Regions from separate parts of the Homo sapiens genome. Here all the other regions are linked to region 4. The links are contacts of gene promoters, found by promoter capture Hi-C in blood cells and fetal thymus (Javierre and others, 2016). All regions are on one chromosome and are shown on one strand. The core of a region is centred on a gene start or on the middle of the fragment in contact, and the rest is flanking DNA. Distances in the headings are between cores, read along the strand shown. Region 1 holds the start of PLPP6 (phospholipid phosphatase 6). Region 2 overlaps SPATA6L (spermatogenesis associated 6 like). Region 3 holds the start of SMARCA2 (SWI/SNF related BAF chromatin remodeling complex subunit ATPase 2). Region 4 holds the start of RFX3 (regulatory factor X3). Region 5 overlaps CDC37L1 (cell division cycle 37 like 1, HSP90 cochaperone).

What was found. The method cuts DNA at HindIII sites, captures the fragments that hold promoters and counts their contacts. A CHiCAGO score of 5 or more calls a contact.
Region 1: a fragment that was not itself captured here is called in contact with the fragment with the promoter of RFX3 in region 4 in 3 of 17 cell types (fetal thymus, naive CD4 T cells and non-activated CD4 T cells); the score reaches 8.8 in fetal thymus.
Region 2: a contact is called between a fragment that was not itself captured here and the fragment with the promoter of RFX3 in region 4, in 2 of 17 cell types (naive CD4 T cells and non-activated CD4 T cells). The highest score is 5.9, in naive CD4 T cells.
Region 3: the fragment with the promoter of SMARCA2 here is called in contact with the fragment with the promoter of RFX3 in region 4 in 1 of 17 cell types (fetal thymus); the score reaches 5.0 in fetal thymus.
Region 5: a fragment that was not itself captured here is called in contact with the fragment with the promoter of RFX3 in region 4 in 1 of 17 cell types (naive CD8 T cells); the score reaches 6.5 in naive CD8 T cells.

The regions. Positions count from the first base shown.
Region 1 is chr9:4,662,198-4,665,323 of GRCh38, reverse strand. All of the region lies in intron 1 of SPATA6L (spermatogenesis associated 6 like), which reads left to right. PLPP6 (phospholipid phosphatase 6) reads right to left here and starts at 3,030. Exons shown (of 1, transcript NM_203453.5): 1 at 66-3,030. The coding sequence starts at 2,948. The coding sequence ends at 2,061. RefSeq lists a silencer at 2,636-2,895. The HindIII fragment of the contact is 490 bases long and covers 1,006-1,495 here.
Region 2 is chr9:4,596,693-4,601,512 of GRCh38, reverse strand. It overlaps SPATA6L (spermatogenesis associated 6 like), which reads left to right. Exons shown (of 12, transcript NM_001353486.2): 12 at 704-3,197. Among named protein-coding and RNA genes, the nearest start is that of PLPP6, 63 kb to the left of the region's middle. The HindIII fragment of the contact is 1,919 bases long and covers 722-2,640 here.
Region 3 is chr9:2,011,706-2,016,823 of GRCh38, reverse strand. SMARCA2 (SWI/SNF related BAF chromatin remodeling complex subunit ATPase 2) reads right to left here and starts at 1,477. Exons shown (of 34, transcript NM_003070.5): 1 at 1,420-1,477. RefSeq lists silencers at 118-287, 1,428-1,767 and enhancers at 475-1,031, 1,818-1,867, 1,928-1,977, 4,188-4,317. The HindIII fragment of the contact is 4,329 bases long and covers 1-2,293 here.
Region 4 is chr9:3,524,637-3,529,768 of GRCh38, reverse strand. RFX3 (regulatory factor X3) reads left to right here and starts at 3,768. Exons shown (of 17, transcript NM_001282116.2): 1 at 3,768-4,022. LOC124902110 (a long non-coding RNA gene) reads right to left here and starts at 3,284. Exons shown (of 8, transcript XR_007061398.1): 1 at 2,992-3,284. RefSeq lists enhancers at 2,824-3,123, 3,384-3,433, 4,011-4,627 and silencers at 3,614-3,803, 4,234-4,323. The HindIII fragment of the contact is 14,491 bases long and covers 1-5,132 here.
Region 5 is chr9:4,684,973-4,689,728 of GRCh38, reverse strand. It overlaps CDC37L1 (cell division cycle 37 like 1, HSP90 cochaperone), which reads right to left. Exons shown (of 7, transcript NM_017913.4): 2 at 4,571-4,756; 3 at 1,123-1,216. Among named protein-coding and RNA genes, the nearest start is that of CDC37L1, 7.8 kb to the right of the region's middle. The HindIII fragment of the contact is 6,570 bases long and covers 1-4,756 here.

The DNA of each region.
Region 1 (3,126 bases), core at 1-2,500, 1.1 Mb before region 4:
CTAAGTGATAAATCTGTCTCCCTCCTCATCAAGGCAAAAATTAAGCAAGTTTTCATCTCACTTCATTCACCATTATTTGTTAATTTTATTTTGATTTTTAAAAGGCATTATTCAGTGTACAATTAACAAAGAAATCAGTTTTCTACTCTACTGTACTTAGGATGCTTCAAAAACATCAGGTGAAATGATCTATGCTTTAAGAGCCAGAAAACTCAGGCCTCAGCAACTAAAACAGAGAATTCCAAAATTGTAATTACAAATCAGATGGTAAGCCTAATTTCATGCCCCTAATATTCAGATTTGTGGACACTGCAAGAGGAAATATCATTTGCTTCCAAATATCTGGCTTGAATATTGCTGCAGTTAAAGGATCTCGCTAAGGTTAAACAACAAACCCAAACCACTTAGAGCTTCACAGTTTAGCTGCTTTAGCAAGTGAAGAGGTAGTCGGTATTCAGGATGCTGTGGGAATGCAAATGATTTGATTTTGAGGCATGGCTGTTCCTTTTTCACTATGCCCCTCACTCTGAACAAGCTCATGCTTTCACTCAATCAAAACCTACTTATCACAGCCGTTCTCCAGGTTCCGAACCTCCGTATGGCAGATCAAAGTCCATAATCATTTCTATTTATAAATGCCAAAATAGTCATTAAGATTATCTGAGGACATCACTTCCATAGGTAATTTAAAGGATTTCTTTTCAGGTAGAGCAGCACTTAAAGCACATACCTTCTCCAGTCTTTCTGGGTCAAAGAATAATGAGCAGAGTCCACCCTGCGTTTGGTGGTCTTTGGTCTTATGATTTGGGGAGGCACCATGGATGAACAGCTTTAAATGTAAAGGTCAATGTAAACAGAAATTTTGGAGTTTTATCTTGTGCCTGGTATAGCAGCAGACTCCCATGATGAATTTCAAGTTAAATACTGTTACCTAAAATGTGCTGTACCTCAGAAAACGGAATTCCATGTGAAAAACTGTAGCATACAGGTATATACGAGAAAGCTTATGTTCTTGCATTGAGAAGACGTTCCTTTTCCCCACTTTATTACCCTGAAAGAGGAGCATTATTCTTTATTCAGTGGAGATGACTGGCAGCAGGGCCCCATCTCCTGTCATACTGGTCACTGGCATAATATGTGGTCAGCCTATTCCCAAACTTTCAGTTCCTCTAACTTTCCCCAGCAACTTAGTTTCTCTGCCCTCTCTCATGCCATGTTACGTTGTAAACAAAAATAAGCATGGGGCCATGTCCCATTCTTCCTCTTCTATGAGCATCTTAGATATGCCTACCTTTTAAGTGATTCCTCTTTAAGCAAGTTGGCTTTTTCTCTGAATGCTAAAAGACAGTAAGGGAGTAGTGGGAAATGCATAAAGATCTTTTGAGGGATGGAGGGAGAGGAGAGAAAGACAAGTATTATAATCTCTTTTCCCACTACCCGATCCACAAATATGGATAGAGATAATAAATTATAGAGATAATAAAGTAAAAAAGCTTACCAAGAAAATCAGGATTAAGAAGAAATCTCCCAACTGTGGCAACAGATCTTCAGGGAATAAACTAGAAAAACCTATGTCTTGGACTTTAAAAATACTGTTTAAAATCTACCTCAGGAAAAGGACTAGGATTAGTACATGACCTGTCTGCATGTATATTTACAGAATGAACATCATGTTTCTTTCTCGAAGTTCAGTTTACAAGTGGTATGTTGATTTAGGGATTATCACAAAACACAAATCTTACTGATACCAACTTTTAACAGCAACAGTATAACCACCTCAGCTTGTTTTCTTTGCAGTTGTCCTGGAAACATAAACAGTTGTTGAATAAATATACAATAGAGGATTTTTTGGGTTTTTTTGCTTTCCCTAATATGGCTGTGTTCAGTAATGGCCAGTGTGTGCTCCAGCCTAGCAGCACATCAAGATCATGGGACACCTGAAATCCCAAAGGAAGCCTGAAATGCCTAAGAGGGACAAGCGGGATGGCTGCTGGTTTAGGTTGACATCATCGAATGTGGAAACCTTCAGACTTCCTGGTGCCATAATCAATGAGATGGTGTCATCGTTGACTCCACAGTAAAAAGAGGACCGGAGCATTATGGGGTGAGAGCCAGCAATAGTCCACGATGCTGTACTGCATGTAGCCCAGAAAAAAGCCAAAAGCTACGTCGGTGACATTGTGCCGCCCCAGCATGACCCTGGATAGGCCCAAGACGAAGGCCCACAGAACCACCAGCACCCTCAGTGGAATGGCCAGCACCAGGTGGTTCAGGATGAACCTCGACATCAGGGCGGCCCTTGTGGCATGGCCCGAGGGGAAGGAGTACTTGTCCACCGAGAGAGTGACAAACATGTCCATCTGGTTGTGGGCCGGGCGGCGCCTGCGGACCAGCCCTTTGATCAAGGCCACCAGCAGCAGGTCCAACAGCAGGGCGAAGAGCAGGTTCATCAGCACCTCGCGCCCGGCCCAGCTGTCGCTCCTGCACAGGCAGTAGAGGGTGCCCAGCAGCCAGGGGATGCCGTGTCCCGAGATCTCCAGCAGCTTCATAAGGGGTCGCACGCTGCCCCACGACGAGCTCTCTCCCGCGCACACCCCCAGCTTCTTGGACAGCCACAGGTCGATGGCCAGCAGGGAGCGCAGGGCGATGCCCAGGAAGGACGGGTTCAAGTCCATGCGGTCCTCCTCGGGCAGCGGAGGCGCGGGCGACTGCGAGGGGCCCGCCGCGGCCAGGGGGAAGGAGCCGCGGCGGTGAACTGGGCTCTCCGATGCACGGAGCCGGGCGCAGGTGGGGTCCACGGCCGTGGCGCGGCTGCTGAGCAGGGACTGGAACTCAAACCTGCTGCCGCCGCCACCGCCGCCATGGGCTGGGCTGCCGGGGCTGCTGCTGCTGCTCGAAGCGGAGACGCCCAGCGGCCGTCCCTCCATGCTCCTCCGGGGACTTGGCATCGCAGCTGGCGGCCCGGATCCCGGGACCTGGCCGGACCAAACAGAGGCTTCCCGGCCCTGCAGCCTCTTCCGCTTCCGCACTACCATCCCGGAGGGGCGGGGAGAGGAGCCGGCGAGAGCGCGATTGTGACACCTGGTGGAGACGTGGGAGGGAGTTGGAATTTCCAATGTGAGGAGA
Region 2 (4,820 bases), core at 432-2,931, 1.1 Mb before region 4:
GTTGAAGGGGTTGGAATACATCTATTTCTGGATCTTTTGGGACTTGGTACTTTTGGTATAAACAGAGTATCCCTTGTATATTTAAAATTGGTGAATTTTACCACACAAAAACCAAACATCCAAAAAACCAAACAAAAAAAAAAACCTCCCGTAAAGAAACCCCTCAGATTATCCCTAGTTCTCTTGGAAGGCATAATTGCCGTGAAATCCCGGCCCCCAGTGTGCAGTGCCAAATTACAGAGCAAGACTCCATCAAAAAGAAAGGAAAGAAAGGAAGAAAGAAGGGAGTGAGGGAGGGAAGGAAGGAAGGGAGGAAGGAGGGAAGGGAAGGAAGGAAGGAAATTTGTTCAGTAGAATATAGTTAATTGGAACACGTTTAACAGCTCAACTGAATAACACCTATTTTGGCACATTTACTATGTAGCAATGCTAACTCTTCACTATAATAGTAAGAGGTAGATACTCTGTCATCATCCTGATATTTTACAAAGACGTCAAGTAAATTGTCCAAGGTCACACAGATGCTCACTGGGTTATTCTGTTGTGGGAATCTGGGGAAAAAGCTCAGAGACTAAGTGATCCCAAGGCATAGCTACATGCCAAGATTGGGGTAGTATGACATTATCTTTTTCTCCTTACTTGTATTGATTGTTTGCCTTTTTCTCAATACCACATGTAGAATGTGATGTTTCAAATTTTGCAGGGGAAATTAATGAAAGCTTAAGGAGAATCATGAAGAGCTCACTCACTGAGACAATTGAAGCATCCTTAAAGAAATGAACACTTTTTGTTGTCTGTGTTGAGTCACTGATGTCTAATCCCCTTTAAACCAAACCCTGTACTCAGTCTTTTGTGCCCAGGTAAGAGTTGTTGATTAAAGTGTTTGCTGTTTGGGGGCTAACATTTTCTTGTCAAGCTGGAAAATTTGTGTTTTTGCATGTTTGTTTTGAACATGAAAGAGAAAGCGCTGTAGTTGGGTGGCAGGTGCTTATCTGAACACTTCCCCTCTCTCTCTCTCTGGCTCTCTCTGGCTCTCTCTGTCTCTCTCTCTCAAATTAATTATATATGAGCTAGAGGAAGTTGCTATTCACAGGAATAACCTGATAAATCCTCCAGGAAAGACTATCAACCTGACTTTCTCTTTTCGGTAGATCCGTTTTTGTTGTTGTTTGTTTATTTCTTAGTGTTAGGCTTGATTTACGTGAAGTCCACTAAAAACCTTGGAAAAGAGAGCATTACGTCTGGGTAGTTCAGATCTTGTTTTAGATGTTGAATGTCTGTGATAAATTTGTAAGAGGAGGCTGGCTCCTCTGGAGCGTAGTTTAAACTGCTCCTTCTGTTTCCTACTCCTTCGTTCCAGCAATTCTTTGTAAATTTAGATGAGGAACAAAACCTTCCTCAAATATTTCTCCAAAAGAACTACACATTAAGTAAATAGGTTCTACAGATAGGACTGCCAATGCCAGGTTTTAAAGTTAGTTAGGAAGGTGCATCTATGAAATGCTTACACAGTGTGAGGGAGCAGGAATAGGAAGGGGCTGGGATAAAGGGAGACTAGAGGCACATTTGTCTTCATTGATACAGACCCAGAGAAGAGGGGCCTGAAAATGGAAACTTATTTCCCTCCTTCATAGTGTAAGCATAGCATTTTCCTCTACCAGCCCTACTATAGTGTGAATGTTTGTGTCCCCTCAACATTTGTATGTTGAAATCCTAACCTCTAAGGAAATGGGGCCTTTTGGGAGGTGATGAGGTTGTGAGGGTGGACCCCTCATAAATGAGATTAGTGCCCTATAAATAGGCTCAAGGGAGCTCGTTTGCCCCTTCCACTGGCGAGGAGACAGCGAGAAGGCGCCATCTCTGACCCAGGAAGAGGGCCCTCACCAGATTCTGCATCTGCCAACATTCTGATCTTGGACTTCCCAGCTTCCAGAACTGTGAGAAATGAATTCCTGTAGTTTGTAAGCTACCCAGTTTATGACATTTTGTTATAGCAGCCTGAATAGAGTAAGACACTACCCTAAAACTTGTTCAGTTTTTAGAAGATTCAGTGAGAGCCAAGTTTTCTTTTCTCACTGTAATCATAGGGATTGGTTCATTAGGTAAATTAAGAAAATGAAATTAAAAATTAAAACAGAAAAGGAACTCCAAAAACAAAAACAACAAAACAAAATTCATTTATCCTCTTCTTAGAATTTCAGCCAAATAAAGGTATATCCAAGTTGAACCTCCCAATCTAAAAATCTGAAATCTGAAATGCTCCAAAATCCAAAACTTTTTGAGCACCAATATAACACCATAAGTGAAAAATTCCACATCTGACTGCATGTGGCAGGGTGCAGTCAAATGCATTCGAAACTTTGTTTCATGCTCCAAATTATTTAAAATCATGTATAAAATTACCTTCAGGCTACCTGTATAAAGTGTATATAAAACGTAAATGAATTTCGTGTTTAGACTTGGGTCCTATCCCCTATCCTGAAGATACTTCATTGTGTTTATGTAAATATTCCAAAATACAAAAACAAAAACCAAAACCCAAGTTTAAAATACTTCTGGTCAGTCCCAAGCACTGAAGATAAGGGAGACTCAACCTGTATCACAACCAGCATTCCACCTTGGCAAGGCCAACAGCAAGCTTAAATTACATATGCTAATATGTTCTCAGTCTCTCTGAAACTATGGTTGTCAATTTGTTGTTTTGATGTTACCTCTAAGTAGTCATCAAAAGTAAGAAAATATTGTGTTACATTAAGGTTACGCTATAAGTCTCAGGAGAGGGCTGCTTACGTAAGCAGCTAAAGGAAAGCAGCACTAATGAATTGGTATCCCATTTCAGTTATTGTTAAAATATACACCATGACATTCAATATTCAGTGTTTTTTGAAATGGTTTAAGCATAACTCTTTAATAAGATCTTAAATGCCCATTCTTATTTAAAGTCATTTTTGGTTTTCACACTAAATTACGCTTTTTTTCCCTTTACTTTTGCATCTATTAACTCTATTCCTTAAATTATTATTATTTTTACTTTTGTTTCTCAAGGAGTTATCTCAATTTTGAGGAATCATGCTGGGGCAAGGATTGCAGTTGAAGTATTTTGCTTTTGGAGTGTATAATAGTATGAATAATTTTGTGATGTTTTGGGGTTTGGATTACTTTGGGAAGATCTGTGTCATTAAACATCATAAAAAGAATTCCCATCTGTCTTGCTTCAGTTTATAATTCCTTTCTTGATTTTTATGGTTGCAGATCTGTCAAAGCCTGGAGCATATTTTATGGGCATGTTTCATGGGGTCTTGGTTTGCAGAGGCTCCTAAGAAAATCTCCTTTGTGGAACCTAGGCCCTCCAAACAAAAGCTGCTGTACAATGAGGCCAGTTCTCTGTGGTCACCTGACTGACCCAAAGTTAGCTGAAGCCTGTAGGCCATGAATTATAAAAGAGATTTTTAAAAAATGAGAGTGCAAATGATATGTTTGACATAAAAGAGGTGGCGGGTTTTAGGTGTAATTTGAGAAGACTGATGGGTATGTGTGTGAGTTCAGCCCTAGCACCCAAATGCCAGGCTACTCTCAGTATAGCCAGTACTCCCCTGAGTTGGTCCATCAAAGGAGCCCGCTGGGCTCTCTGGAGGGCAGCCTGAGGAACAGGATATGCTCTGTAGTCCATGCTGTGACCAGAGAACCCACTAGTACCACCGGATGGGACTGCTGTCTTTCTCTGGTTAGGGGACCCCTCCTAGCACTACTTAGCGGACCTGCAGGTCTTAGGGAGACCTCTTCTCTCTTCCCTTGTGCTGGGAACCCTGCCAACAGTGATGAGAGCCCCAACCCTTTGCTCCTTTGGCCTGGGAGCCCCATCCTCCACACTGAATCTAGGGGCACCAAATTATGGCAATGAAGTTACTTTGTTTATCAAAGGAAAGAACCTATGCTTAATTTCACATAGGGAATTTGGTCAAAACAGGGTCATGTCTAGGACAGGAGCTTTTACATGGTGCAGATGGGTCCTTTTCTTGATGGCTGAGTTGATGGAGCTTCTTCAACAAAATGAGGAGTTTCTAGTCCAAAATTTTTCCTTGGGATTCTGCGTCTTTTAGAGTGATCCATTAGCTCCGCCCACCTCACCCCCCACGCCCCACCGTGTGTGTGTGTGTGTGTGTGTGTGTGTGTGTGTGTGTGTGTGTGTGTGTATTTTGTTTTCTTTTTTTATATATATAAAAAATAGAGAAGGAGTCTCCCTATATTGACCAGGCTGGTCTTGAACTCCTGGCCTCAAGTGATCTGCCGCCTCGGCCTCCCAAAATGCTAGGCTTACAGGTATGAGCCACTGCGCCCCTCCGAGTACCTGGATTTAAATCCTAGTTCTGCCATTTACAGGCTGAGTGCCTTGGACAGATAATTTAACCTCTTTGTGTCTCAATGTCCTTATGTATAATATGGAGGTAATAATAGTATCTGTCTAATAATGTTATTGTTGGTAGATAATACATTTAAAGTACATTAAATCAGTGCCTGGCACAAAATGAGCACTCAGTGAGCATTAGCTATTCTTATTCTCATCTCATTTAATTTTTTGAGGAAAGCATTGCTCCCCCTATTTCTTGCTAAGGACACTGAGGCTCAGAAAAGCAAGCGTCAGAGCCAGTTTGCAAACCCTGCTCTGTCTTGTTTCCAAACCTCAGGTTCTCTGTACCACTTCCTGTCACCCCTTTGCTGCCACCTGGTTGGCCCTGAGGCATCACAGATAATTCAACTTAAAGGGTTTGAAAAACATGAACTCAGAACATTTCAGAATAACAGAGCAACTAAGGTCTCTT
Region 3 (5,118 bases), core at 228-2,727, 1.5 Mb after region 4:
TGGAGGGGGAGAGCAAAGGAAGGGGTAAACCAGGTTGGGATGGGAATAAAGCAAACTCCTGAGCAGGGAGCGAGAAGGAAGGAGTGCGTGTCATCGTTGGGAGGAGGCTCCTACCCGGTCTCCCCGCCTCCCGCCCTCGCCACCCCCCTATTCCCTCCCCACCGCAGCCCTTCCCCTTCCCGGGCGAACCACACCGCCGCTGCCCGGTGGTGCGCGGGTCCTGTTTGTGACAGTCAGGCAGACAGGATTATCCGGATCATGGCCTCCCGGGCCCGCAGCCGCCGCCGTGGCTCTCCTGGGTCCCGGCGCGCCCCTAGCACCCGGACGATCGCAGGCGCCCCACGCCCGCAGCTCCCGCGGCGCAAGCAAGGGGAAGACGCGAAGCAAAAGAACACGGACCCGGGGAGAGGGAGGGCAGGGTAACGGAGGCTGGCGGGCACCTCCGACCTCCTTGGGGGCCTCCTCCCTTCCCTCCAGCAGTGCGGCCCGGGCCGGACATCCCGAACTTTAACACCCGAGCCTGCGCTGCCGCCAGGTACCAGAGGCAGGGACGTCCGCAGCGCCCGGGGCGCAGCCCCCTGGCAGCCCCTTTGCCTAAAGGCCTGCCTACCAATCAGCCTCCCCATCCACGCCGGAGGAAACGCGGAAAGTGGAGGTGACACCTCCGATCAGGCACGCACCGGCCCCGCGGCAGTGGCCGCTACCTCCTTCGCGCGTCAGCTCAGGCTTCTCCCGCTGCGATCCGCTCACGTCTCCGCAGCCGGAGCCCTTTGAACAAGTCCCTGGGAAGCGGGTGGCAACAGCGTCCGTTGGCGCCCCGCCGCCAGCCTGGGCTCCCCGCCCTCCTTTCCCGTTCCCCTTCCAACTCTTCCGGGGAGGGTTGCCCGGGATGAACAGTAGCGTTTCCATCCTCCTCCCCTGTCCCCCAGGCCTTCCCCCTCCTGCGGCCACCCCCCTCCCCGCCGCCTCACTTTTAAGGGGATGGGGGGATTGCAACCTGGCCCAATGTGTGTGTTGCAACCTTGAGTTGGCAGCGCCTCTGACTGCCCACTCAGGATCAAGGCTGTGGCTTGTTGGGATTTTTTTCCTCCTTTGCCCCCTTGAAGTAGTAATTATTACTGTTATTATTAGAACAGCAAGGTTCGGTTGAAACTTTCTCGTTTCTTCCACCGCCGCCTGGGAGCTGTCGTTAGAGCATTCCACCTGAGGCCCGCGGGGAGGAGGCGGGCTTTTTTTTGTCGCGGCGGTTGGCCCGCCTGTTTGTTTTGGTCTCCTTGCATGCACAATAAATAATAATTAGGATAATAATGGATAATCCCGGGCGAAGGCGGCGTGGTGCCGGAGGGGTCTGAGCGGCGGCTGCAGCGGGGCGGCCGAAGGGAGGGGAAAGAGGAGAAAAGAGTTGTAAGTTATATTTACCTTGCTCGCGAGGAGTGTGCTGGCTGAATCTCTTCCCTCTCTGAGTCACCCAGAGTACAGAAACAGAGGGAGAGAGGACTAGATTATGAATATGACTTCATTGATGACAGCCGTCCCCTCCTCTTCCTAAACTCGGGCTCCGCCCAGCGTCCCACCCTCGCCTCCTCCGCGGGCGCCGGAAGACGCGCCGCAGTTGGCCCCGCGCGCCGCTCCTCCCTGCCCGTCCGGGCGCGGGTTGGCGGGACGCGCCTGTCACTCGCTCAGCTCAGCGACTCCGGGAGCGCGGGGGGAGGAGGGGGCGGTGTGCAAGAATGTGGATCTAGACAGCTCTACTGTATGCGTGGATCCGTGTGTGACTGCAAGGCGCCGGCTCTCGGGCCGCGTTTGTGCCTGGAGCAGAGAAACTGCGCGGGATGCAGAAAGCCCCAAGCCCTGCTGGAGCTGGGCGCCCGCTGTCCCTTCCCTGGCAGTCCTCTTCCTCGGGCGCCGCGGGGCTCCTCCAGGGAGACTGCGGAAGGGGAGGAGGCGAAGCGAAAACGGAGGGCAGCCGTAGTAATAGCGCGTAGTAGTTCGGGGGTATGTGGAGAAGGTGCTGGAATTTAACTGTGCCTCCGCCTGCCAGTGCGAGCCTGCAGAGAGAGAGGGAGGGGACGGGGGACGGGCTCCGAGTGGCACCAAAGCTGTTTGTGGCACAGTGTGGACTGTGGAAAAAACGGGCATTGTCGTGCCGGCTGAAACTTTTTCTCCCCCTTCCCTAAGGCTGTCATTATAAATCTGCCCCCTATTCCAGGTAAAAAAATAAAAAATAGAAAAGGGAGGCGGGCACAAAGAACGTTCCTGCCAAATCTGTCTCTTCCCTGAAGGACTGCAAGCTTCCAAATGCCAACGAGGGAGAAACAGCTGAGAGGCTGAACGCCTTATAAATAAGTAAACCCACCCTAACCTCTCTGTTTACTTCGTGGACTAGGTACAGCACTATAACCTTCCCTCACCTGCCATCTTCGCTAAAATATATACAAAAATATGGAAAAACAAACCCTGGGGGCGGGGCTGGCGGGTTAGGGGGCGGCTGAAGCATGGAATCTGGTTTTGATTTAAAAAGGGGAATAAATCTCTTATTTTCTACAGACCGTAGTCTCTTCCCTCTCACCCCGCATTTGAGACCAATTAAGGCTGCAAATTGTAATTTGCTGGCAAGTCGCGGTTTTGAGACCTCTTTGCTCCAATTTTCCTTGAAATACAGTACTTTGGCCGGACCAATAGGTCGGTGTTTGGTGAGACAATTTTATTTTTAGTTTTATGAAGTGTGAAAGAATGTTAGGAGACTTTAAATCAGGGGCCTATTATTTTAGACTCAGATTAATGTAGATGCTTGACTCTTAAAACTGTTCCTATGCAGTAGTGTTATGAAAAGTATGATTTATCCCTTATTTCGTAATGTAATGGCTTAAATTAGTCATTCAAAGTGCACTGTGACTATCTGGTTGAGGATTCTTCCCCCTAGAGTAAAATCCTATTTTAAGACCATTTTACTGTTGCAAAATTGACTCCATTTGAGCAACTGGGTCTGAAATGCAGTTCTAGGATGCTTAAAACTTCAGGCTGGATAAGTTGAAGACAAGAAGTAATGGAAAGAACGCCAAATACTGCCATGTAGTCATTAAGAAGCAAGAATTCTTTATATCACTGGTCCACTGCTGGCTGAAGCAGAGCCCACTAGGGCAGCATTTTCATGATGGCTGGGAGTGTTGGTGATCACCCACCCTATAGCTTTCTAAGGTCTTGCTACTTGCTTGTTAACTTTAGCTTCATCATTTTCTGTCTATCTTGAAGTGAACCTCAAGACAACGAAAGATAACACAGCTAAGAGAAATAGAATATAGTGTGCCCTGAAGGATCCATTGTAAGAACTTGTTTTTCTGCCTGAGGATATGCCGGTATAACTATTAACTGAGAAATATATAGGGAGAAATTTTAAACAAGACTAGTAGTATAGTAAAAGTGTAACATAAATACTAACTTCTAACTGCCTAATAAGTCGCAACTAATAATATAGCCAGATAACCTACCTGTCTCTAATAAAGAGATTTAACCTAATAGCAATGCTTATTACATTGAGAGTATTAGGTTTTAATTTTTTTGGGGTCTAATTTGTTTCTCTGGCATGCCGGCCTCACATGCCAATTTTCAGAAATTGATAACTTCACTTTTATTCCCTTGTGAATAAATGCCCTTTATCCCCTTAAGATTCTACTTCCACTTGCCATGCAAATCCTCAAAAAAACAAAAACAAAAACAAATCAATTAGTAAGTCCCTGGAGAAAGAAACTGTCCATTCCTTCTGGCATTTTGTCACAGGGAAAGTAAAGAAGAAAACATTCCCTTTGTTATATGTGTATATTCTTCAGCTCATATAAAATTTTGATGTTGTCCTTGGAGGCGTTGGTATCCACGCATTGTATACACACAGCTATGGGAATTAAAATACATCGTTGGGAACAGAGATTAAATATAGATATTGCATCTCCCTCTCCCTTCGCATTGGTCTAAGAAAGCACCACCTTCCCCCATCACCCTTCAAGTTGTTCCTCTAAAAATTCGTCTTGTTTGTAGTTTGTACCCTAGCAGTTACGAATTTTATAAAATAAGGCCTCAACACAGGAGAAATGAAAAGGCAGCGTCATTCACTTGGTACAAAAAGAAGATTGTAGAACATATAGCATGAGTTTCACCTCTGAGGTAAAACGAAATTTAACAATTGAAGTTAAGGAGGAAAATGATGGGTTTTTTTTGTTTTGTTTTGCAGAAAATCATACAAAAGCAAATGTGGTTGGAGGGTAAAAGGACTCCAGGAGGCTGCACAGGGTGCTACGTTCACACGCAGCTTTTCTTTTTGGACTTTGATGAGTCATAATGTGTTCTCTGAACTTGCTTTTCTCTTTCTAGTTTGGTATCAAAAGATAGAAGTCACTTTTTCATGTCTGTATGGCCACATTCACTTGTTATGTAAGTCTGCTTTGGTTACATTCTGTATAGAGTAGATACTGGGTTTAAAACTTGGTATCTGGATACAACACCCTCATAAAGAAAAATTCCATGCACAACGTTAGGAAGCTTCTAGTCCCAACAGACAAACTGTTAATGCTGCCTGAAATGTTGCCTAGCTTCAAACACGAGCAGGTAAGACCGTTTAGGCAGTGAGTATTTCATCTTCAGTAATGGAAACCAAGATTTGACAAATTGAATCAGCTGACATTTAATTTAAAGAATAGTTTAGAATTAACAAGTAAATTTATTACAGAAATAAACACTCCTCTCTCTCCTTTTTTCTTTTTTTCCTTTTTGAGTCAGAGTCTCGCTCTATTGCCCAGGCTGGAGTGCAGTGGCGGGATCTTGGCTCACTGCAACCGCCGCCTCCCAGGTTCAAGGGATTCTCGAACCTCAGCTTCTCGATTAGCTGGGATTACAGGTGCCCGCCACCATATCCAGCTAATTTTTGTATTTTTTGTAGAGACAGGGTTTCACCATGTTGGCCAGGCTGATCTGGAACTCCTGAACTCAAGTGATCCACCCGCCTCTGCCTCCCAAAGTGCTAGGATTACAGGGGTGAGTCACCACACCCCGCTCTCTCTTTTTTTTCTAATGGGCATGTTCAATAAATTATGTTTTTCACAATCATTCCCCCAAAATACCACCCCC
Region 4 (5,132 bases), core at 2,519-5,018:
AAGTGCTCAATAAATATTGGTACAAATGAAACCATTCATTTTATATAAGAGAACCCAAGACTCTACATCTCTCTCTCAATTGAAGAAAATAGGATATAATCAAATGAAAAAATTTAAAACAGGTGTGATTTCTCTCATAAAAAGATTCACCACAAATTCAACAATAAGGTGCCACAGCATACATTACTTTTCAAACTCTCATACTATTTTTCAGAAGCAAGCCTATCACATAGCACTATTTTATCTTTTCATATGCATCCTTTCTTTTTTAAAGTATAATAATGAAATAACTTATTAGTCCTTGAATATGGAGTAGATATGAATAGGCAAAAACACTCTAATAGATAATACAGAAATCTACCACTACGAATGTGTTAAAGTAACTTATGAAATACACAATCTATATATATCATCAGGGCTTCAGATTTTTCTTCAAGTAGTTCAGATACAAATGTGTTATTCCATGTCTCTTCCAATCATTCTGATCGGAGAGAAAAAAACAATCCAAGTTAAAACACAACATTCTAAATTAATAGATAATGTTGAACATTTTACATTCAGGAACTATGTCTGCCCAATTTTAGCTTGGTTATGTACCTTTTTTTATTGATCACACAGTGTGTTTTGCACTATAATAGGTGATAACTGTTAGAGTGGTCCAATACTGGGTCTTTTCTGTGACTTCTTAGCAAATAATTTATTTCTGAAACATACATGCAACATATGTGAAGATGCATCTATGCAGCTTTAAAAAATGGCTAAAAAAAATCCTACAAGCAATAACTATGGGTTAAAAGGTTTCTGGGTTCTTTTGTAACTAATTACAGTATTAAACAATACATGCATATAAAATCCGTATTTTCGATTCTATAGCTTGAACTGGTATCTTGGTCATCTGATTCAGTGTGGTGGTGTATTTGTACCTTTTCACACTGCTATAAAGAACTGCCGGAGACTGGGTAATTTATGAAGAAAAGAGGTTTAACTGACTCACAGTTCTGCAGGCTTAACAGGAAGCATGACTGGGAGGTCTCACGGAAACTTACCATTATGGCGGAAGGCGAAGGGTACAAGGACTTTCTTCACATTGTGGCAGGTGAGAGAGGGGTAGTGGTAAATATTTTTAAACAAGCAGATCTCGTGAGAAGTCACTCTTGAAACAGCACTAGTGGGATGGTGCTAAACCATCAGAAACTGCCCCCAGGATCCAATCATCTCCCACAGGGCCCCTCCTTCAACACTTTCGGATTACGATTTCACATGAGAGTTGGGTGGGGACACAAAGCCAAACCCTATCAGGCAGTAACACTAACATTTCAAATATTAACCTCAATATGGTTAGAATTGTATCATCATCAAGTATCCTAAAACATGGGAAAATATTCTAAATTCTAAATTTTCAAGAATTAACTTCAGGAAATTTATCTATTCCTAACTCTGGAAAAGACCAAATCTGTAAGGCAAAAAAAAAAAAAAAAAAAAAAAAAAAAAATTTAAGCAGCTTAAAACTGATTCTATAATGTCCTAGCACAAGGGTTGCACTTATTTTTTAATAGTCCCTCGAAGTACCTATTTATACTCTTGAGATACAGTTTTGCACAAGGTTCACTATGTGGTTTTCTTGCCTGCAGATTAAGAGCAATAAATTAAAAGGGCGGTAAGGATAATAGAACTATGTTCACTGACAAAAATAAAAAGCAACAGCTGACAATGAAAGACGGGACAGGCAAACTATAACAGACAATGGAATTTAAAAAAACAAAGCTATTCAGAGAGCCATGTAGTGTGAACATACAGCCCTACACACCATTATAGGAATGAGGACTTTATCAGTAAATATAATAAAGAGAATATTCATAACGACTACCAGTTTTCATAAAGCTGGAACGTATACCTCATTTCCCATCTGTATGTCAAATGGGACCCACACTGGTCACCACACAATCATTTGTCTGACTAGAAGCCCTTACTACCACAGTGGGTCAGGAAACCTTTTAGCTTTAGCACTAGGCTCACCACTGTTCACTACTGCAACACATTATTATTGTAAGAACATCTCTAACTCATGAGATTATCAAAGGCAACAATATTACTTTTAAAAACGTACCCAAAGTAGCTGGTTCCTAAAACAAGGTAACCTTGTATTCTATGGCACGCAGCCATAAACTAAAACCACCGACTTTTAGGACTCTCGGCCTGTTTTTCCTCAAATGCGAATATTACCTAACACTGGTGTTGTTGGGATTACATGAGATAATGTATGTAAAACACTTAGCACCAGTTCTGGGACACAGAATGAGCTCAGTATTATTTTAGCGCTGGTGAACGCATGCCGGCCCAAATCCCTTACTTGCAGGTGCAAAAATTAAGCCTCAAGAGGAGAACTGACTTCCTAAGGCTCTACTTCTACTATGTCATTGTCCTGGTTAAGCAGCTTAGCGGCAAATGTTGGGAGATTTTGGGTATTGGCAGGGCCTGGGGGCATGTGCCTGCTGGACTCGAGTCTGCAGAGAATTGGAGGAGTCTGTTTGAACCATGAGGCATTACAGGCTGTGCCTTATCAACGGGTGTTTGAGATGGCAGGTTGTGTTAACAACATTCAACACAGACGGAAGCCATTCGTCTATCTCAATACAGCCACAAACAGCAAGACCCTCAGCTACAGTAGGCTGAGTAACGGGGGATGAGAGCACGGCAGGTAACAGGATCCGGGCTTGAGCTCAACTCCCAGTTCGGTCTTTAAAGAGGGGTGAGCACTTAAGGGCTGAAACTAACAGAACTAGAAACTAACAGGATGGTATCGCAGGCAGGTGTAAGCTACCCCGCCCCTCTACGCCTTCCGTCGAGGGGAACCGCCAAATGCGCTTTCTCAGCCTCCGGGCAGGGCAATTTCTTGCTCTCTACAGGCACTTACTCCCATCCCTTGTAGATAGGGAGTGATGACCTCGCTTTTTCGTTATGGAGTGAGGGCCGGACACGCTTGGACCTCACCTCTCCGCGCCACGCTGCGGCGGCACCGCGGGAGGCCGACTCGCGCCCACGCACACCCCACGCTCGCCTTCTCTAAGATGGCGGCAGAGGCAGCTCGCTCACGCCCCGCCGCCCGCGCTCCTCCACAAGTCGTGCCCTCAGGAGGCGGGAGCGGGTGAGAGCGCGGAAAGCAGGAGGGCGAGAGTGACGCGGACCCTCCAGTCTAGCGCAGGCCGCGGAGCCCTGAAGCGTCCAGGAAAAGGAAAAGCCAGGAGGCTGACGCTACCAGGAACACCGCCGGCGCCTCAGAAACTAAAAAGCGGCGGCACATCCGGGCCCCTCTGCCCGCCCCGCCCCGGAAGTAACGTATCGGGCAGGGCGGGGGCCGCTCTTCAAAGTGGATTCTTCCCTCGCCATAGCTCGTTTCTTCACAAAGTGCCTGGAATCACCCTCGCCACCCCCTCCCCCGGGTTAGCCGTTACTCTCTCGTGGCTCCGGGACGTCTCTGTACAAAGCTGGCTGCTGGGACAGGCAGCCCTCGTTTCACAGATAGTACCCCTCGCACCACGACTCCTGGGCCTCGCCAGCGCGTGTAGTAACGTCCCTCCGAGAGGACTCTTGGTGACCTCAGCCCCAGCCAAGCATAGGCGCACCTCTTCGGAGTCCTGCGGTGGAATCCCGGCCTCGTGCCCCGTCACCCCGCCGCCCCGCCACCCCACCCGGGTTTGGGGGCCGTCAGTCACAGCGCTGCGCCCTCCCCTTCCGGCGGCTTGGCCGGGCCCGCCTCCTCCCCTCTTCCCTCCCCCACCCCTCCCCGTGCGAGTGTCTCCCTCTCCCTCTCGCTCTCTCTCTCTCTCCCTCTCTCTCTCTCTTTTGTGAGTTATAGCAACCGTTGCCTTGTGAATCAAGCGCCATAGTCACCGTAGTCCTGGCGACTGTTACCCATCAACAACAACTACTCCTCTCCTCCTCCTCCTCCTCTTCCTCCTCCTCCTCCCCACCACCACCATCTCCATCACCCACCAACAACACCACAATAATCCACAGCCAAGGTGAATATTCTTCGGTCTCTACATGTGTGTGGGAGCGTGTGGCTGCGTGTGAACGCGTGTGTCCGTGCGTGTGTGTGTTCGTGTGTGCGAGCCGAGTGTGGCTGTGCTGGGGTCTCACTCCTGACACGGGGGCTGCCGCTGCGGCGCCGCCGCCGAGGGGCTCTGTTCCCCGGGCTTGTTTACAATGGACCCTGCGCGCCGCGGCTGGGTCGGGGGTGTGGGCGCCGCGCCGCCCGCCGGCCCCGGCCCTGCGCCGGCCGCACTTCAGGGATGGAGCGGGAGCTTGGGGGGCTGCGAGCCGAGCGGGAGAGGGAGCCACAGTTTTCCGATGCGGATGCTGGATCTTTCCCTTAGGTCTGGTCTGAGGAGGAGGGTCAGGTGAAGAGATAAGAATTTGTTCTTTCTTTAATTTTCTTCTTTTCCAACGCTGCTGTTTCCTGCTTCTTTCAAAGCCGAAATAGACAACAGTGTGCAAGGGGGGGACCCAAGAGGTGGTGTTTTGTTGTTGTTGTTGTTCACTTGTGGGGCCTTGTTATGGGTTTTGTTATTTTTAATCCTCATACGTTGGTGAACTTTTCCCACCGCCCATTCCCTTCATTTTTGCCCCTCTTTGCCTGGTGCTGAATGGGCTGCTCTTCTTTCACCATCATCAGCTTCATGGTTTTCTTTTTTCTTTTTAAAACTGTATTTTCTTTGTGCGGCAAACAGTCTTAACATCCATTCAGCACTCTTCCCTCCCCCTCTTTCTCCCCCCCCCCACACACCCCTTGCACACATATTGAAACCTGGGGCCTGTTCGTTGGGCCCTCTTTGCTGTACTGGGAAAGATGTTTTTCTTTTTTAAAGTCTGTCTCCTCTCTCTTCTTTGGTGTGTGTGTGTGTGTGTGTGTGTGTGTGTGTGTGTGTGTGTGTGTGTGTGCTTGTGATTTAAACCGGATGCAGGGCATCTGTGATACTTGGGTTAGTAGTTATTGACAGTGCTTTATCCTTCATGTGGAGGTGGGAGGGGGAGTAGTGAGGTTCCGTTTCACTTTGATGATCCTCCTTCCCCGCAGTAGAGTGTTAACAATTTTCATTGTGATTATGAGACTTTGTGATGAACAGGGAAGG
Region 5 (4,756 bases), core at 649-3,148, 1.2 Mb before region 4:
CTCTGCTCATTTTAAGATTTTACTATCTGTCCAAGGGAGGCCTGTGTATTCATTTTTTTTCCATTATAAATAATACCACATTGATTATATGTAGAAAAACTTTGTCTTTATTTCCTTGGGTACTATTTTTTAGTTAAACACAGTCTTTTTTCTTTCTTTAAAATGAAAAGTATGAGCAAAGTGAATATTTTACGAATAAATTACATAAAAGGAAGGGAAAAAATTTAAAGTAATATTTATTATATTGACATAACTGAAGCATAAACGAAATTCAAAAAACGTTGGGTAAATAAACACCAACAGGAAAAAGATTTCAAAATGCCATGTAAAAAGTTCATGAACATATTACAAATAAAAACCATGTTTACTAAATTAACATACTACTTGGAATTAAAAAAAAAAAAAGTTTTAAACCTTAACTCCTAACACTTCCCAGCAGCATTTTCATGCCAGCGGTATCATGCTGCCTATAATTCTCAGAACACACCATGCTGTTTCCTAACTGCCCGTCTCATGCTGTTGCTGTTGGCTTGCCTCCCTTATACATGAAAAACTCCTATCTGTTCCTTGAAATCAAGCTCAGATGCTGGCTCCTCTGGGAAGCCTTCACTTGTATCAACCCCCCTCTTACCCTTTTTCCCCAATAGAAAAAACCTATTTTTCAGTTCTTTATATATACATTTCTATTACTATATTTATCTGAGTAACAGTTCAAGGATCTGCCTGAATTATAAAGCATCATATCCAAAACCTGAAAAAAAATGAATAATCTTTAAAACATAAGATAATCAGATTCCAAGGAAGCAAAGAGGAAAAAGAAAAAAGCAAAGACTACTTAGGAAATGGAAAGAGGCTATGGAATACATAAAGTTGTCTTAAAGGTAGTACACTATATAATAATACTTTTGCTTCTCTTTACCATTTGGTTTGCTCTGTCAATTAATTTTATTTATAACCAAAAAAAAAAAAAATTCTAAAACAAGATCTATACAGCTGTGCCAGAAGCTACAAAATTGGAGTTTGCCACTTTTCTTTTTGGCTCTCTTTTTATAAATCCATTTTTTGCACATGTACATATGATACCAAACATTACAAAGAAGGAAATCCAAGTAGTAGACTTACCAAAATGTCTGATTTTTTGCTCATATTTTTGCATAAATGATTCTGATTTATCTTCATCTTCTGTGTCTTTTCTTTTATCTTGATTAATAAAACTCTAAGAAAAAATTTTAGAAATTTAAATCAGATTTTAAATTCTAATTGAATCTTCTTTCTCAGATACTGAATATCTAGCAATTCTTCCTATAGACAATATATGTGGTATAGTATCATACTGATATTACATGATTAAATTCATCTGGTAAACTATTTTTAAAAATTAAAATTTTCTTGTATGGGAGTCTTATTAATTTTGTTTAAAATGATGTATGAGGCCGGGTGTGGTGGCTCACGCCTGTAATCCCAGCACTTTGGGAGGCCGAGGCGGGTGGATCACGAGGTCAGGAGTTCAAGACCAGCCTGGCCAACATAGTGAAACCCCGTCTCTACTAAAAATACAAAAAATAGCTGGGCATGGTGGTGGATGCCTGTAATCCCGGCTACTCGGGAGGCTGAGGCAGGAGAATCTTGCGTGAACCCAGGAGGCAGAGGTTGTAGTGAGCTGAGATCATGCCACTGCACTCCAGCCCAGGCGACAGAACAAGACTCCATCTCACAAAAAAATACATACGATATATGTGTGGATATAGGTTCATCTTAGAAATCATACAGAAAAACAACTGAATTAACCTTTTTGGTAAGCTGAATTTCCCAATTAAAAGCAGGTATAGAAACATCCTTTATATTTTATATGCATAGTTTACTTGTGCATTATTTAATTCCTATAAATATTTGCAACTCTTGCCTAATCTTTCGAGTTCTTGCTGGAAATAAACTCAGAAATTCAAAGCACATAGAGAATAAATGATATTTACCGTAAATTCTTTATTAAGACATAAACAAGAAATAGACTGTTGTTGTTGCGTGTCTTTTTTTTTTTTTTTTTTTTTTTGAGATGGGGTCTTGCTCTGTCACCCAGGCTGGAGTACAGTGGCACAATCATAGCTCACTGCAGCCTCAACCTCTTGGGGTCAAGTGATCCTCCCACCTTAGCCTCCAGAGTAGCTGGGACTACAGGTGTGAGCCACCATACCCAGCTAATTTTTAAATTTTTTGTAGAGACGTGGTCTTGCTATGTTGCCCAGGCTGGTCTTGAACTCGTGGGTTCAAGCAATCCCTTCACCTTGGCCTTCCAACGTGCTGGGATTATAGGCATGAGCCACTGTGCCTGGCCCTTTGTTGCATTTCTAATAAACTTCTTAGAAGAGACCAAACAGTTTGATTTTTAAAGTCAAGTACAAATTTCTATTAAGGAAGTACTTATTTTCAGTTAAATAAGTCATAAAATATACCAAGAATAAAGTTTGTATCTAGCTAGAAAAACTGGCAGAAGTTTCTTAGAACATTCTGTGATCATATTTATACCCCGTTATCATCACTGCCAAAAATAAAAATTGCAAACTAGATCACTGCCAGTTTATAATCAGGAAGCACTCAAAAGTTTACATATTTCAAAATAAAAGATTTTTTCTTCATGCAGTCTGACATCTAGACCAGCACTGTCCAATAGAAATACAATCCAAGTCACAAATGTAATTTAAAGTTTTCTATTAGCCACGTTAAAAAGCAAAAAGAAACAGATGACATTAATAAATTATTTTATTTATCTTAACATATCCAGCCTATTATCATTTCAACATGTAAGCAATACAAAACAATTATTAATATTTTACTTTTTTTGGCACTACATCATTGGAATCTGGTGTGTATTTTACACTTACAGCACATCTCAATTCGGACTAGCCACATTTCAAGCACTCAATAGCACATGTGGCTAGTGGCTATCAAGTTGGATAGTGCAGATCTAGACCAGTCCTCTCAAGTCTCAAGCTCCCAGACAAAACCAGTGTAGGATTTTGAGCAAATGACTGGAACATAAAGATAGTCCTAATTAATTTGTGAGATAAATGTAGGCTGTCTTAGAACCTTAGAACCTAAGTTTAAAGAAATAATTAAAAGCAGAGACAAAATGAAAATATTTTCTTTGTGACCACTGTGTTAAAGAAGAGACATTAACTTTACAAAACAAGAAATATTACTTTGAACATTCCTTCTGGAAGAAAAAAAATTATTTTCAATAGTTTTGGGATATAAATGCAGAACAGAAAATAACACAAGATGCACCCCTTAAAACAATATATACAGATATAGCAAATGACTCAGATAAAGAATGATCCCATTGTGGAGGGGGAGAAAAAGTATATATAAATTAGTACAGGCACAGAGAAAGTCGAGAAAGATATGACTCACTGTTAAAGTACTGATAGGGCTAGTGGCGATGTACACTTATCTGTGTGTGTTACTGACTGCTGTAGCAGAACTAGAGCTGGTCCAGGGAAAGGCAATTAAAAAAGTTCATGAGAGTGGGTGAAAGCAGATGCCAAGAGGACAATTAAGAAGTTTGAGATGTGTTTCACTGTTGCCCAGGCTGGAGTGTAGTGGCACGATCTCGGTTCACTGCAACCTCTACCTCCTGGGTTCAAGTAATCCTCAAGCCTCAGCCTCCGAAGTAGCTGGGACTAAGGCAATACAGGCACATGCCATCATACTCAGCTAATTTTCGTATTTTTTATAGAGACAGGGTTTCATCATGTCAACCAAACTGGTTTTGAACTCCTGGACTTAAGTGATCTGCCTGCCTTGGCCTCCCAAAGCGCTGGGATTACAGGTGTGGACAACTAAGCCTGGCCTATTTTTCAATAAATATCATTTTATTCCACATTTAAAATACTAGTTCATGAAGTTTTGCCTTTTCTCCCCTTTTCATGCATTTGAAAATCAATCGCTAAAAACTCTAGTTTTCAAATGGAAAACTGAGGTATAAAACCCTGAAGTTTGAAAAACATGAGATTTTAAAAGTCTAAGCCTTCATTCTTAAAGGCACTTAATAAAGGATATTCAACACTTCTCTTTATCTTATCTCTCAATCCCAGAGTCAGGAATTTCTCACATTTAACCCACCACTAAGTTATCAAGTCACTCTACTTATTTTTCCACTTAGTTTCTTCATTTATAAAAAGAAGGTAGTTGCATTAAAGGAACTCTAAAGTAGTGATAATCAGTGTAGGGGGTACAAAATATATGTGGAGGAAAATATTTCATAACTGATATATTTTCCCATCCTTATATCAAATTCTTGTGAATGTTTTTTAATATATGTAATATTTGTTCAGCAGTACATTTATATAAATATGTATTTCAGTCTGGTCACTTAACTGCCTGGAGTCTGCAGCTCTACAGCAAGAGCTTTGAGACTTTTTGACTTTCATAAACTTTTCAAGCACCTTTCATAAACTGTCAAAATTGAACACTGTTTATGGGATTCTGCTGCTTTGCTACCAAATACGCACAACTGGTTTGTACAAACACTTCAGTTTTTCTTCTTTCATTATGGCCCAGTAAAAGCTCATACCTTATTAAAAACATCCTTGCTAATGGCATCCGTGCTCCACAGACACATCTTCTCTCTTTGTACTAGAGCTTCTTCTTTCTGTCGCCACTCTTCTTCCCGTTGCCTCAGTTCTGATACTGCTGTTTGTGCTTTGGCATGCTCCTGATCCAAGGACTCAGAATTATGCAGTGCTAAGCTACCAAGTTT